Regions from separate parts of the Homo sapiens genome. Here region 1 is linked to region 2. The links are contacts of gene promoters, found by promoter capture Hi-C in blood cells and fetal thymus (Javierre and others, 2016). All regions are on one chromosome and are shown on one strand. Each heading gives the region's core, a stretch centred on a gene start or on the middle of the fragment in contact. The rest is flanking DNA. Distances are from core to core; before and after follow the strand shown. Region 1 overlaps PDCD11 (programmed cell death 11). Region 2 holds the start of CALHM3 (calcium homeostasis modulator 3).

Region 1 (7,051 bases), core at 122-2,621, 65 kb after region 2:
GGCTTTCCGAAGCTTTAATTTCCCCACCCGCAAAATGAAGATAATAGTGCTTAATTGTTAGGGTTGTTTCAAGGATTAAATGAAATAATGCTTGTCACATGCCTAGCATAGAAACTGGCACGGAATACCTGTTCGTGGCAGTCCTGTTCGTGGCAGTCGCTACTGATAACGTCAACAATTCTGGCTGCTCCAGCCCACCCTCACCTCCCCTTTCTCAGGTGTGACCACAGCACACAACCTGCACCAAGCCACATGGCAAAAGATCACAGGCTGGCTTGCTCTCTCATCACGTATGAATATTTTAACTCCCAATTATACTACACAAAACGGGGACTCACTTTTCTCTTCCCAATGCCAGGTACAGCACAAGACACACTACAGACATTACACACTCACTTTGTGGAAAAAGGCAGAAACTTCAGTTGAGAACTGCTTTCTTCCCATCTAGCCAAAACCCCAAGAGACCCTTCAGGAGGCTCACCCGGCACTTGACCTCATCCCCGATGTGGTACTTCTTCTCCGGATTCTTCATCAGGATGTCAGCCAGGTGCATGGGAGGTACCAGGCCCCTCATCTGCTCGCCCACCTTCACCAGCATCCCATATGACTTTATGGTTAGCACTGTGCCCTAGAGAATCCAAAGATAAGCTGCCACAATGTCTCAAGAATGGCCTTTCCCCCACCTCTTACAACAAGGCATGTCATACCTCCCCTTCACAGCCAACTTCCTGGGCTAACTGTGCCTGTTATTCCAGATGGCACATGGGTGAAGCACACACCCCACACTGAGCTGGATTATTCTGTCAGCTTTATTTATGGGAGCCTTCACATCTTTCTGTGTGAGCATGTGCTTTCTGTGTGCCTTAAAATACATTCCCCAAAGGAAGGGACTATGTCAAGGTCTCCTAAGGAATAAACTCTACATATAAAGGGAGCTGCTCGATTAGAGCCAAATGGTCGGACAGGACAGGTACCTGGAACTGGCTTCTCACTAATATCCCAGGTAGATCAATAATCACAGGACTAACTTTTGATCAGGTCTACTAACCACCATCAAATCCCAAATCTCAGGATTTATGATCTACTGCCTTTGTGTAGCTGGGTGGTGCTAGTAAGATCTTACCTTGAAATTAACTATGAGTTACCCAAAGAAAGAGAAAGAAATTCTAGTCAGCAGGCAGAAGCAAGGAACATGACATTCAATGTGTTAACATGAGGACTAACGGGCTGACAGTCACCTGTGCGTGAACTAAAGAACGCCTGATGGTGAGGCAGTACCTAATTATATGCTTGAGGTCTTACCTTTACCACTGCCCCAGGTTCGATGTCATGATATCTAAGGTACTGAGCTTCAATAATAGACCTAGGACAAGGAGAAAACACAGAATTAAATAAACTAGGGCAGAGGTTGCCTAAAATTCAGGGCTACCACAGGCATGCTGGCAAGAAAGAAAACCCTTCCCAAGCACAGCCAGGAGAAATGGAATATGAACATGTACAGGTGCACATCTCTACACCCCTACCTGTTAATGACAGACTTACGTTCGTAGAGAGAGCAAGGCCAGTTCATCCATTTGGCTGTAGTCAATAATTCTACACTTGTGAGTGTTCCCTGGCTTGAAGGCCTCAGGATTGAAGACGTTCTTAGAATCAGAGAGATGGCTGAGCTGCAAAGTACCAAGTGATTGAGGATAAGCCAGGGACAACAGGTCTGAGCCAATGAGACCTTACAGCCCATAGAGAGGACTCAACACTTATCATGTACCATAAAAACAGTACTTTGATTGCCTGGTTAAGTAATTCTTCACACTAAAAAACTGCTCTTTATCATCACAGAATTTCAGCAAGGTCAGGGAAAGTCCAGAACACAGGTCAGTCAACTGTGCCTAGTGCCTGTTTTTGTAAATAGAAGTTGTATTGGAATACAGCCATCTGTTCATTTACGTACTGTCTATGGCTGCTTTCATGCCATAACAGCAGCGTTGAACAATTAGGACAGAGACCACAGGGCCCACAGCCTAAAGTATTTATGACATAGCCCTTTAAGAAAAACTCTGCTGGGCCCTGGTCTGGATCCTAACTCATCCTTATACTTAACTATTAACCAAGTATCAGATATGGCAAGCTGGTTCTAAGGCATCCTAATACAGTCAATAGACATTGTTCTAATCACTATGAACAGGAATTAGAACTACAATATCCAAAAATTTTAAACTAGCATCAAGGAATGAAAGAAGCAGAAATGGCCCCCTGTGCTCCAGAAGTCCTTCCAGTGATAAGATCCCTGACCAAACAAAGAGGCCTCCTTACCCGGGCATAGGCCAGAACCCCATCCTTCAGCCTAAAGGTGGCCCCAGCCTTTTTGAAAAAACCCTGGACAGGAACATCATCCAGCACTGCTCCAAGGTTCTGGCAAGAGAGTCGGGTGAGTGGGCGTCCAGGCTGTAGGAAGATGGGGCGCAGGCTCAGGTGCACAACTCTGGTTCGAGGATGGACGCAAAGGATGCAGGCCCTCACCTAGACAAAAGGAAGGGCAGGGTGAGCAGGAGGAGGCACACAGGAGCACCCTAGAGCAGACCTTCCAGGCATCAAGCCTTTCCACATGCTAACCAGGTATGTGAGTACTCACATCCTTAGTATGTAAGTACTCAAACTGGCTTCCACACTCAAGCAGAATGCAGAAAAATCAAAATGTCCCATAGGGACTATGTATGACTAAATCAAAGCTTACTCAAGCCAGGTATGGGTGGCTCACACTGGTAATCCCAGCACTTTGGGACACCAAGGCAGGTGGATCACTTGAGCTCAGGAGTTAGAGACCAGCCTGCGCACATAGTGAAACCCTGTCTCAACAAAAAATACAAAAATAGGCTGGGGATCATGGCTCACGCCTGTAATCCCAGCACTTTGGGAGTCTGAGGTGGGCAGATCACTTGAGATCAGGAGTCTGAGACAGCCCAGCCAACATGGCGAAACCTCATCTCTAGTTTTAATAAAAAAAAGTTAGGCTGGAAGCAGTGGCTGATGCCTATAATCCCAGCTCTTTGGGAGGCCGAAGCAGGCAGCAGGCAGATCACGAGGTCAGGAGATCAAGGCCATCCTGGCTAACACAGTGAAACCCCGTCTCTACTAAAAATACAAAAAATTAGCTGGGTGTGGTGGCACACACCTGTAATCCCAGCTACTCAGGAGGCTCAAGCAGGAGAATCGCTTGAACCCAAGAGGCGGAGACTGCAGTGAGCCAAGATCACGCCACTGCACTCCAGCCTGGGCGACAGAGCAAGACTCCGTCTCAAAAAAAAAAATTAGCCGGGCATGGTGGTACGTACCTGTAATTCCAGCTACTCAGGAGGCTGAGGCACAAGAATCACTTAAAATGGGGAGGCAGAGGTTGCAGTGAGCCAACACTGTGCCACTGCACTCCAGCCTGGGTGACAAAGTAAGACTCAGTCTCAAGAAAAAAAAAAAAAGTTAGCCAAGCATGGTGGCATGCACCACTTTGGGAGGCTGAGGCAGGAGAATCACCTGAGTGAGCCCAGGAGGTCAAGGCTGCAGTGAGTGATGATCGTGCCACTGCACTCCAGCCTGGGTGACAGAGTGAGACCCTGTCTCAAAAAATAATAATAAAATAAATAAATAAAAATTAGCCAGAAAGTTTACTCAAGGCCAGAAAACTATATACTAGGTGTCCCCTCAACACCAAGGAGCTGATGTATCTGTAATACAACAGAAACCATGTACTGGTGTCACTGCATCCAAGGCTCCTCTGAAACTAACAGAAAAAGCCTGATCTCATCATAACATTAAAAGATGTAAAATGTCTCAACTCTATACACAAATGCTTATAGGGTGAAAAAAATTACTAAAAAGAGGTTTAGGAAAATATTAACAGTATTACCACTAGGTAGTAGAAAATCCTAGTTTCACTTTAAAAAAAAATTCTCAGCTAGTTGTAGTGGCTGAAGCCTATAATCCCAGCACTTTAGGAGGCTAATCCCAGCACTTTAGGAGGCCTAGGCAGGAGGATCATTTGAGCCCAGGTGTTTAAGACCAGCCTGAGCAACACAGCGAGACCCCATCTCTATAAAACATAGCAAAAATTAGCTGGGCGTGGTGGCATGCATCCGTAGTCCCAGCTACTCAGGAGGCTGAGGTGGAAGGATCGCCTGAACCCAGGAGGTTGAGGTTGCAATTAACCGTGGTTGTGCCATTGTACTCCACTCTGGGCAATAGTGTGTGACCTTGTCTCAAAAAATAAATAAATAAATAAATTATCTATAGCACACATTACTATTTAAAAAAAGAAAAGTAAGAAATCATTTTAGAATTCTAAAAAATTCTGAATAACATATATTAGGATTTTCTTCCCAAATATCCATGTTCATTGTAGGAAATTTGAATATTTAAATACGAGCGGAGCCAGGGTTGTGGCTCACACCTGTAATCCCTGCACTTTGGGAGGCCAAGGTTGGGGGACTCCTTGAGCCCCGGAGTTCAAAACCAGTCTGGGCAACATGGCGAGACCTCGCCTGTAAAAATTTTTTTTTTTTTTTTTTTAAAGACAGAGTCTCACTCTGTCGCTCAGGCTGGGGTGCAGTGGCACAATCTCGGCTCACTGCAACCTCTGCCTCCTGGGTTCAAGCGATTCTCCTGCCTCAGTCTCCCGAGTAGCTGGGACTACAGGCACGCACCACCAGGTCTGGCTAATTTTTTTTATTTTTAGTAGAGACGGGGTTTCACCATGCTGGCCAGGCTGGTTTTGAACTCCTGACCTTGTGATCCTCCCACCTCGGCCTACCAAAGTGCTGGGATTATAGGCGTGAGCCACCACACCTGGCCTAAAAAAAATTTTTTTTAACTAGCCAGGCATTGTGGCACACATCTGTGGTCCTAGCTACTCTGAGGACTAAGGTGGGAGATCAATTGAGTCCAGGAGATTGAAGCTGCAGTGAGCCGTGTTTGCGCCACTGCACTCCAGCCTGGGTGACAGAGTAAGACACTGTCTTAAAAAAAAAAGAAAAAAAAAAAAAAGAAAAGAAAAGAAAAATCACCCAGAATTCATCACTATTAACACCTGATTGCCTAATATTCCAGTATTTTAACCAGAGGTACTTTTTAAAATTTTTTTCAAAGTTGGATCTATACTATACAACTTTTAAAATCACCTTTTGCTGTTTAAACGTATCTTATTCTCCTATGTTAAATATTCTTCTAAACTACTTTAAATTATAAAAACAAAAATACTACTACCACCAAAGGAAAAAAAAATCAAACTATATGGAAGACTATGAAGTAAAAACTGAAAGTTGCCTTCTTCTCCACCTGCTCCTTCTCTAATTTCAGTTCAGCCACTGAGAGTTTCTTACTTTCCTTCCATAACACTTTTTTTTTTTTTTTTGAGATGGAGTCTCGCTCTGTTGTCTAGGCTGGAGTGCAGTGGCACGATCTCAGCTCACTGCAACCTCGGCCTCCCGGGTTCAAGCGATTCTCCTGCCTCACCTTCCTGAGTAGCTGGGACTACAGGCATGCGCCACCACGCCTGGCTAATTTTTGTATTTTTAGTAGAGACGGGGTTTCACCATGTTGGCCAGGCTAGTCTTGAACTCCTGACCTTAAGTGATCCGCCCACCTCACCTCCTAAAGTGTTGGGATTACAAGCATGAGCCACTGCATCTGGCCTCCATAACACTTTTCATTATTCCTCTCATCTCCTCTCTGCACACCTGTATGCATGCAGTCCTAGGACCTCCCTGTAGCTAGCTGTGATACTGGACAGCAAATGGACCACAACTGGAATCAAGAAAATATAGGCTCAACATTTCTTACTGCCTGATTTGAGAAATATGTTCCAGCTTTCTTGGGATCCAGGTGCATAAAGTCAACCACGCCCGTGAAGAATGTGAGGAAGTTTAGCGTAAGGCCAAATGGAGTCACCTAGAAATAAACAGAACAAGTTATAAAAAAAAGTTCTTTGAAAGAACCAGGAATGTGAGACATTGCTCACAGTAAACACTCAATGCCATAGTATCCCTAACTGTGTATCTCTCCTCTCCCAGGTAACTCTTAACAATCTTTTCTTCCTATACAAATAACTGGCAGAACAATTCCTGCACTGGCTGTTTCTTTCCTTAGTAGGCTCACCTCCCTTCCAGCTAAGAGAGGACATCAATCCTCCCACTCTCTGGGAGTCCTCCATGGAATGGAAGAAGCTTTGTATATGTATCCTTGGGGAACTGCCAGCCTGACAACTGGAATAGATTGTTACTAACTTAGATATTTTCCCAGTATAGGAAGGTAAAAAAAAAAGGTTAAAAAAAAAAGGGCTTGCAAAAGGGAGATACTGACCACAAGCAAGCCAAGTCACCCTTATGGAGTCACCAAAAAGCGAAAAGTAACAATCCCCTCAAAAGATAGTGGTGAGGGAGATGAATGAAATCAGAGAACTAAGACCTCTCTCTTACCTTCCCGGAAAATACTAAACCTATTCTCTGGGAAAACTGTTACCAGAATCAAAAAACAGGAAAAGTGCAAATTCTGAAAATGTCAATTAAATTCTAAATATCATGTAAATATTCTTATGTCAATTAAATTCTAAATATCATGTAAATATCCAGCCCCTTTCTCGTACTCATTCTCGGGCAGCCAGGCTTAGACCCTCGTGGGTGGAGATTGCCAGATCCTTTCTAGAGAAATCTAACATGCCAGAGAAGACCTATAACAATCACATTAGGAGGTTGCCCAAATTAAATCTGCTAGTCCTGTTCCTGACAGGAAAGTTAAACGGTCAACAAGAAGGTGGGCGCAGTGGCTCATGCCTATAATCCTAGCACTCTGGGAGGCTGAGGCAGGTGGACCACCTGAGCTCAGGAGTTTGAGACCAGCCTGGCCAACACAGTGAAACCCTGTCTCTACAAAAATACAAAAATTAGCCAGGTGTGGTGGTGGGTGCCTGTAGTCCCAGCTACTCTGGAGGCTAACGCAGGAGAATCACTTGAACCTGGATGGTGGAGGCTGCAATGAGCCGAGATCATGCCACTGCACTCCAGCCTAG
Region 2 (7,758 bases), core at 2,769-5,268:
TCAAAGGGCATGTGTATTTAAATTTTTGCTTTAAATGTATTGCTAAACTGTTCCATGAAAAACCTACCCATTTGTACTCCAACCATAGATGAAAAGTAGCTATTTCCTTAAGCCTCATCAACACTGGGAAGTATCAATCTTTCAGTTGCTAACAACTTGGCAATTTTTAAAGGCAACTGGTGGTTTCATTTCTTATTTAATTATGAATGAGGATTAGAATTTTTTCAGGATGTTTGGTCACTTTTCTCTCTCTCTCTCTTTTTTTTTTTTTTTTTTTTTTTTTGCAAATAACCTGTTCAAATCCTTTACCCATTTTTCTAGAGGATTGTTCGTCTTTTGGATTGATTTATATGAGCCTTCTGCAAATTAAGAAAAAGAGGCCTTTGTGTGGCAAATACCCTTCCTTCAGTTTGTTATTTTTATTTTGTTTATTGGTATGTTTGCCCATAGAAGCGTCTAGTTTTTATGACTCTTACTTGTCCATCTACTCCTCTACAGCTACTAAATTCTGGGGTCTGTTCACAAAGGCCTTCCTTAGCCTCTGATTATGAATAAATTCCCTTACGTTTTCCTGTAGAATTTTTATGATTTTAATTTTTATGTTGAATCTTTGAACCATGTGAAAATTATTTTGGTATGAAGCATGAAGTAGAGATTGCTCCCGAATGGCTAGCCAGTTGTTCCAGCGCCATCTGTTAGATGGCCCCATTTCATTTCCAGCCTGTCTCTGCCCTTAGGGCTACACGGCTCTGTGGAGTCACCAGAGTGGGGCCCACAGAAGTGCCACGTTGCTTTCCCCGGGTCTGCCAGGACCGCTCAAAGGCCTGTGTCCTCAGGGAAGCAGAGAATCACGCCACCGAGAGACAGAAAGGGCACCACCCTCTGCTAGACACACAGAACAACAGTCTCCCAGTCCTGAGAAGTGGGACGCACGTTCAATGCCTTCCCTGTGAAGGAAAAAGAAAAGAAAGAACTGTCAGGGGAGGGCATACTCACCATATACAAAGTAGGAAGACGGCCACACCCATATGTATGAAAACACACATGCATACACACACCAAATATGTACACATGCACTACGCACATACACATACATGTGTACACACATGCATACACAGGTACATAGACACATCTCTCACACATCACATACAACGAGTTTCTCCAGTAGGGGGCATCTAGTCCTAAACAGCCCTCTCAATAACAGGAACTCCAAGAACGGTGAAGCCAGTGTTTCTCAAATAATATCCAGACTCCTTTGCAAAGATCAAAAAAAACTGGAAGACCCCCAAGAATATATCTGCAAGACTCCAATTTGAAAATAAAACAAAATAACATGAAGAAAGTACCAAAGATTTATTCTATAAAGATCTTCCAATTGCAAATTAACACATATTTACAACTGGTTTTAAAAAAAAAAAAAAGATTAAATCATTATTAAAAAGAAAAATGTAATTTATTTTTAGTCTCTCTTTGTTGCCCAGGCTGGAGAGCAGTGGCATGATCTGGGCTCACTGCAGCCTCCGCCTCCTGGGTTCAAGCAATTCTCATGCCTCAGCCTCAAGAGAGGCAATTCTCAAGCCTCAGCCTCCCAAGTAGCTGGGATTACAGGCATGCACCACTATGCCCGACTAATTTTTTGTATTTTTAATAGAGATGGGGTTTTGCCATGTTGGCCAGGCTGGTCTCAAACTCCTGAGCTCAGGCAATCTGCCTGCCTCGGCCTCCCAAAGTGCTGGGATTACAGGCGTGAGCCACCACGCCCGGCCAGATCTGCAATTTAATATCTTTCCATATGTGTGAGTAAAAGAAGCCTTTCTCCATTTATTGCTGCCTCTAGTTCTCTCTCTACTAGTTCAGCAGGGCCAAGCTCCAGGCAACAAAATGGAATTCTCCTTTTTGCCTTGTCCTTTTATCTTTTTATGTTTTTCTAATTAAAATGTTTTATGATTTTTGCTGGAAATAGTTAAAAATCATTATTATGATTATAGTAATGATTTATTATGTCTACTATTATAAAAGTCGACAATTCAGAAAATAGAGATTTAAAAAAAAATGTAAGCCATCCCCTCTCTTTGACAGATAATATCCCTTTTGTGGTGGGCTTCTTTCTGGCCTGTTTCTTTACTGAAGTATTTCCTGTAAATACCCGGCAAGGGTCAGCCCCGCTGCAGTCACTCAGCACCTGTTGCCCTGCAGGGCTCCAGGGACCCAGGCTGACCTGGTAGCTCTGTCTTACCTCTCAGAGGCTGGAGCTGTGAAAAGGTTGGCCTGGAGTCTTTGACCCAGTTTTCTTCAAAGTGTTCTTCCAGAAGCATTGTCTATTGTTTTCTGAACTCTCAAGGTTAGAGTGGCTGGGGACCCTTAGGACACTCTATCCCTCCCTGAGACTAGAATGGGATTGAGGGGTGCTCATGACCCTCCCAGCCCAGTTAGCTCCCCGCCTGCTCCACACCAGCCCTGCTGGTTCAGGGTCACGAAGCCTGGCCTTGGGCCAGGACAGTCCCCTTTTCTGGTCAGCAGCCCAGTGGGTGACTAAGGCTGAAAGGCACAGATGGAGGATCCCAGCTTCCTCCCTGGCTCTGTCCCCGCCAGGGTATGTGACCTCCAACAGCCCCTCTGGGACTGTACCCACCTGAAGTTGTGGTGGTCCTCCTGGCTTGAAGGGTTTCTCACCCCTGCCCCGCCCTCTCCTCCGCTCAGAGTCAGACTCACAGGGCCACTGGTGGCTCTCCCCATCTTCTCCAGTGCCTCATTTCCCTCACACAGGGAAATCTGTCTCATAGGACCTAGAGTAACGTACAAATATGGAAAATAAAAATACTAAGTGGCCAGGCTCAGTGGCTCATGCCTGTAATCCCAGCACTTTGGAAGGCCAAGGGGGCCAAATCACCTGAGGTCAGGAGTTCGAGACCGGCCTGACCAACATGGCAAAACCCCTGTCTCTACTAAAAATACAAAAATTAGCTGGGCGTGGTGGTGGGTGCCTGTAATCCCAGCTACTTGGAAGCTGAGGCAGGAGAATCACTTGAACCCGGGAGGCAGAGGCTGCAGTGAACCAAGATCGTGCCACTGCACTCCAGCCTGGGTGACAGAACAAGACTCTATCTCATAATAATAATAATAATAAGTAAGACCCAGGTTTCTGTCTGTCTTCATCAGAAGTACAGACCACACAGATGGTTACGAAATTTGCAAGACTTATTTGGGATGATCTGACTTACAATATGGGCCAAGTGACCTTTACAAAATTCGTTTTGCAGGTTTCAGGGGTCCCTCAAACATCTGGGCTGTCATCCTTCGGAGAGACTGGAACTGAGACACAAGGAGAGACCTAGTGATGTGGGAGAGTTAGGAGAAGAAGCAGTGATTTCAAACGCATGCCCCTCACACGGAAGAAGGGCAGGGGGAAAGCCATGCAGGTGTGGGCGTGGCACTTGAGCAGCCTCTCCCATGGGCACCCAGTGGTTAATGCACAATGTTTAGCACGTCGCCCAGGGAGGCCATCCCCTTCCGCTACCCCTTTCATGGCAAATGCTGAAACATCGTTGAAGACTCCTCTCAAGGGTCTCCTCTTCCAGGAAGCCTTCGGTCAGGAATAGGTGCCCCTTCTGGCTCCTCCTAGCCTGAAAGCCAACATGAAATCTCCCTGGGCTGAGCTGAGTCGTCATATTTTGTTGTTGTTGTTGCTGTTGTTTTACTATGCCTGTGAGACAAGTTCAGAGTCATGCTTTTGATCAAGACCAGAAAATATACTACCTTGGCTCCATCAGCATCTTTTCCTCACCACACCCAGAATTTGCCTGTCCCCCGAAGGAAGCTCCAACGGCTGTCAAGCCTGAGCATCCAGACCGTAAAGCAAAGAGAAATGGGCCGGGAGGAATGGAGTGACAGGGCGGGGCCCATTTGCCTAGAGGTGCTTTGGGCTGCCCGGTCACAGAGGGTGACTCACTCCCCCAGACAGGAGGGGAGTGGCACCAGGGGACCATTGGGCTGGGCAGGGGAGCCTTTGTGGTGAGAGCCTGTCCCTGCCTTAAGTGCCTACTGGATCCCGGGAGCCTGGGCTGGGGCCTGGGCACTGCTTCCTCCTTGGCCCCTCAGGCCCTTGGAAGCAGAGAGAGAACCTCTTGCAGATCCCAGGCTCGTCCCCAGCACAGCAGACACCAGGAAGGTGGCCAGAGCCTCACTGAGCCGAACCGACGGCCGCCCACCCACCCAGGCTGGAGCCATGGATAAATTCCGCATGCTCTTCCAGCACTTCCAGTCAAGCTCGGAGTCGGTGATGAATGGCATCTGCCTGCTGCTGGCTGCGGTCACCGTCAAGCTGTACTCCTCCTTTGACTTCAACTGTCCCTGCCTGGTGCACTACAATGCACTCTACGGCCTGGGCCTGCTGCTGACGCCCCCGCTCGCCCTGTTTCTCTGCGGCCTCCTCGCCAACCGGCAGTCTGTGGTGATGGTCGAGGAGTGGCGCCGGCCCGCAGGGCACCGGAGGAAGGACCCAGGCATCATCAGGTGCGGTCCCACACCACTCAGTGACCCATGAGCTTTGCCAGGGGCTCCCCAGCCACCCCACAGGCACTGTCAAGTGCACCCCCAGACCCCAACCATTCTCATTATCAGGGGATTCTCCACCCACCCTACAGGTACTGCCAGGTGCGCCCTCTCCTTTCCCCAACTAGGAATTATCGGCTCACAGAGAGCCACTTGCCAGTTTCCACTCTGGAAACATATTTCTGTTCCTATCGTTTGTCACCTTTCCGTGGCCAGTGCTGTAAACATAGGAATGACACAGGATTCCCAATTACCCAGGCCACTCTAGGGGCTGCGGGAAAACTTCCTCTTTGCCCTCTGAAGCTCTGCTGAAAATCAACTGACAAAAGGCAGATTAATAAGAGAAAAGGCATACAAATTTATTTGATTACCGTTTTATGTGCCACAGAACCTTCAGAATAAAGACCTAAAGATACAGAGGAAATGGTTCATTTTTATGCTTAGGTTCAACAAGGTTTGGATAGCCACGCAGAAATAGAATTGGATTAAAAAAGGGATGAACTGATGTTATAGACGGAGTGGGGAAACTCAGCAAGGCCATCTAGGTTCTTCTTGGCCTCTCTATACAGTGTTCCTTTCTCCCAGACACGGGGCAGGACCCTCTCTAGAAGGGAGTCTTATGATCTACAATGAAACTAGGTAGGTCAGATCATTTCTTTACGGCCAGTTTTCAGACAGAAAGGCGGGGGGAAATTAGAATCATATTTTTAGGTTTTATGGTGGCAGCTTTGGAGAAAAGGAGTTCTGGTTTCTATGACCCACCTTGGGGAAGATGGATTCTAGTTTCTATGGCTAGCCTTGGGGGAAAATAAGGAGCCAGAGATTGGGTGGGGGGGCCAGGCGCGGTGGCTCTCACCCGTAATCCCAGCACTTTGGGAGGTCGAGGCGAGTGGATCACCTGAGGTCAGGAGTTCGAGACCACTCTGGCCAACATGGCAAAACCCCCATCTCTACTAAAAAATATAAAAAATTAGCTGGGCGTGGTGTTGGGCACCTGTGGTCCCAGCTACTCAGGAGGCTGAGGAAGGAGAATCGCTTGAACCTGGGAGGCAGAGGTTGCAGTGAGCTGAAATCGTGCCACTGCACTCCAGCCTGTGCGACAGAGCAAGACTCAAAAAAGACAAAAAAAGAAAAGAAAATGCTAAAGCCACCACTGCCTAGAACATATTTACAGCTCACACTGGGTAGGCCATGCACGCACACACCTGGCACACACCATTGGATGTTTTGTGTACAATCCAATTCAGAAACAACATCTGCATCCGGTGCACCCTCAGCCTCTGTTCCATGTTCTCAGGGATCACATCTCCCTGCAATTCAGCTGTGCAGGGTGGGTCACAGGCACTGGGTGTGTCCTTGGCCTTTTCCTCTGGGGTCCAGTGGGCACAGCTCCACTGGGCTCCTGTCCTGTGGCCAATACCCAGTCGAGGTCACTACAGGCAGGGGCAGAGTTGATCTGGAAAGGCGCCTGAGGCCGGTCAGAGGGTGGGCTCCTGGGATGCCTTGTGGGTAGGGGTGTTAGAGGTGCTGCTTTTGGAGGGTTACTGGGCAGGGCTGTCTTAGCTTAGGCTCTCCTCCAAAAGCAGGCTCTGAAAGAATGTGATAATGAGTGGGCAACTGGGGCTTAATCCTTCAGGGGACCCCCTAAGGGCATGCATAGAACACATCTCAGAATTTTCCCACTGAGGATTTAAGAAGCTGGGATATTTATCCACAAGGCCCCATCCCTCTGGGGTTGAAGGTTGATTTGGGGGTTAACTTTTCAGTGCTTCCAGCCTACCCCTCTCTGGAGCAAAAAATCCTCCAAAGCCCCAGGGGCAGAACAATGCAGATGCTTGAGGTAGGAGGCCCTCAGGCCCTCCAGGTGAATAGAACCAGCCACTGCACCCACAGATGCCTCTGGCATGGGCAGGGCACCAGCAGTGTCTGCTGTAAGGCCTAGGGCAAGAGGAATACCAAGTCCTCAGTGCTCCAGTCCTGGGGATCCCAGGGGCCCCTGCCCTCCTTTCTGCCTGTCTCTGTCACTGGGACCTCTACACTGGGAGCTGCAGTCTGATGTAACCCAGCCTGGGACTTCCCAGCAGTCCATCCTTGCACCTCCCCTGCTGCAGCTGACTTCCAGCTGCCCCTTGACCCCCCTCCTTCCTCTGCTGCCAGGTACATGTGCTCCTCTGTGCTGCAGAGGGCGCTGGCCGCCCCCCTGGTCTGGATCCTGCTGGCCCTCCTTGACGGGAAGTGCTTCGTGTGTGCCTTCAGCAGCTCTGTGGACCCTGAGAAGTTTCTGGACTTTGCCAACATGACCCCCAGCCAGGTACAGCTCTTCCTGGCCAAGGTTCCCTGCAAGGAGGATGAGCTGGTCAGGGATAGCCCTGCTCGGAAGGCAGTGTCTCGCTACCTGCGGTGCCTGTCACAGGTAACTGGGGTGATCCTCCCCCGGCCCTTGCACCCTCACAAATCCCCCGCATTGGTTCTGGAGTGGGGTGAGGGGGTGGTGAGGAGGGACAGATGATGGGCTCAGCCCATTCCCAGGAGGCAGGGAAGTGCTGGAGACCACTGCTCTGCCTTGCCTGCGCCCACTGCACACCTTCTTCCCACCCGTGAGAAATAATACTAATCTCCACTTATTGAGCATTTATGTGCCAGGCACTGCAGTGAGCATTTTATATGTATTATTTCATTTACTTTGTGGAACAACCATTATCATCCCATTCTCCAGGTGAGGAAGCAGGCTCTGAGAGTTTAGTTCATAAGGCCAAAGTCACAAAGCTTATAAGAGGCAGAGCAGGGATCGGAAGGAGTGTCATTATTCCTCTTAACCACCTTCCAACAATGCAGGCTCTCTCCAGATGCTGATCTTCCCAAAAGGCACCAACTCTATTATCTTGGGGGACAAACCCCAGCTCTACCCCCAGCCTAGACTCCAGATTCCACCACCACTGCTCCTACAGCCCCAGCACTGAGTTGTGTCCACCAAAAAGTATTTATGTGAACCCACTACACACGGAGCACCACTAGGGCTATAGATAATAAACACACAGCCCCTGCCCCTTGGGAAGTCTGACAGGCTCATGGGCTGGCCAATGGTGCGGTGGAGGGAGGACCCAGGTGCAGGATGCACTTGATTCTGGCTCAGACTGTGACCGTGGCCATGGGACTACCCCTCTGGACCTCAGTTTATCATGCAAAATACAGGGGAGCTTGGTCTCC

Evidence for each region. The method cuts DNA at HindIII sites, captures the fragments that hold promoters and counts their contacts. A CHiCAGO score of 5 or more calls a contact.
Region 1: a contact is called between a fragment that was not itself captured here and the fragment with the promoter of CALHM3 in region 2, in 5 of 17 cell types (M2 macrophages, M1 macrophages, naive CD8 T cells and 2 more). The highest score is 6.9, in M2 macrophages.

Annotation. Positions count from the first base shown.
Region 1 is chr10:103,408,582-103,415,632 of GRCh38, reverse strand. PDCD11 (programmed cell death 11) reads right to left here. Exons shown (of 36, transcript NM_014976.2): 8 at 5,827-5,934; 9 at 2,311-2,517; 10 at 1,543-1,667; 11 at 1,303-1,363; 12 at 482-628. Among named protein-coding and RNA genes, the nearest start is that of PDCD11, 15 kb to the right of the region's middle. The HindIII fragment of the contact is 2,714 bases long and covers 15-2,728 here.
Region 2 is chr10:103,475,500-103,483,257 of GRCh38, reverse strand. CALHM3 (calcium homeostasis modulator 3) reads left to right here and starts at 4,018. Exons shown (of 3, transcript NM_001129742.2): 1 at 4,018-4,512; 2 at 6,709-6,964. The coding sequence starts at 4,226. It overlaps NEURL1-AS1 (NEURL1 antisense RNA 1), which reads left to right. Exons shown (of 4, transcript NR_120675.1): 4 at 3,261-3,655. RefSeq lists enhancers at 5,460-6,354, 6,355-7,249. The HindIII fragment of the contact is 14,732 bases long and covers 1-7,319 here.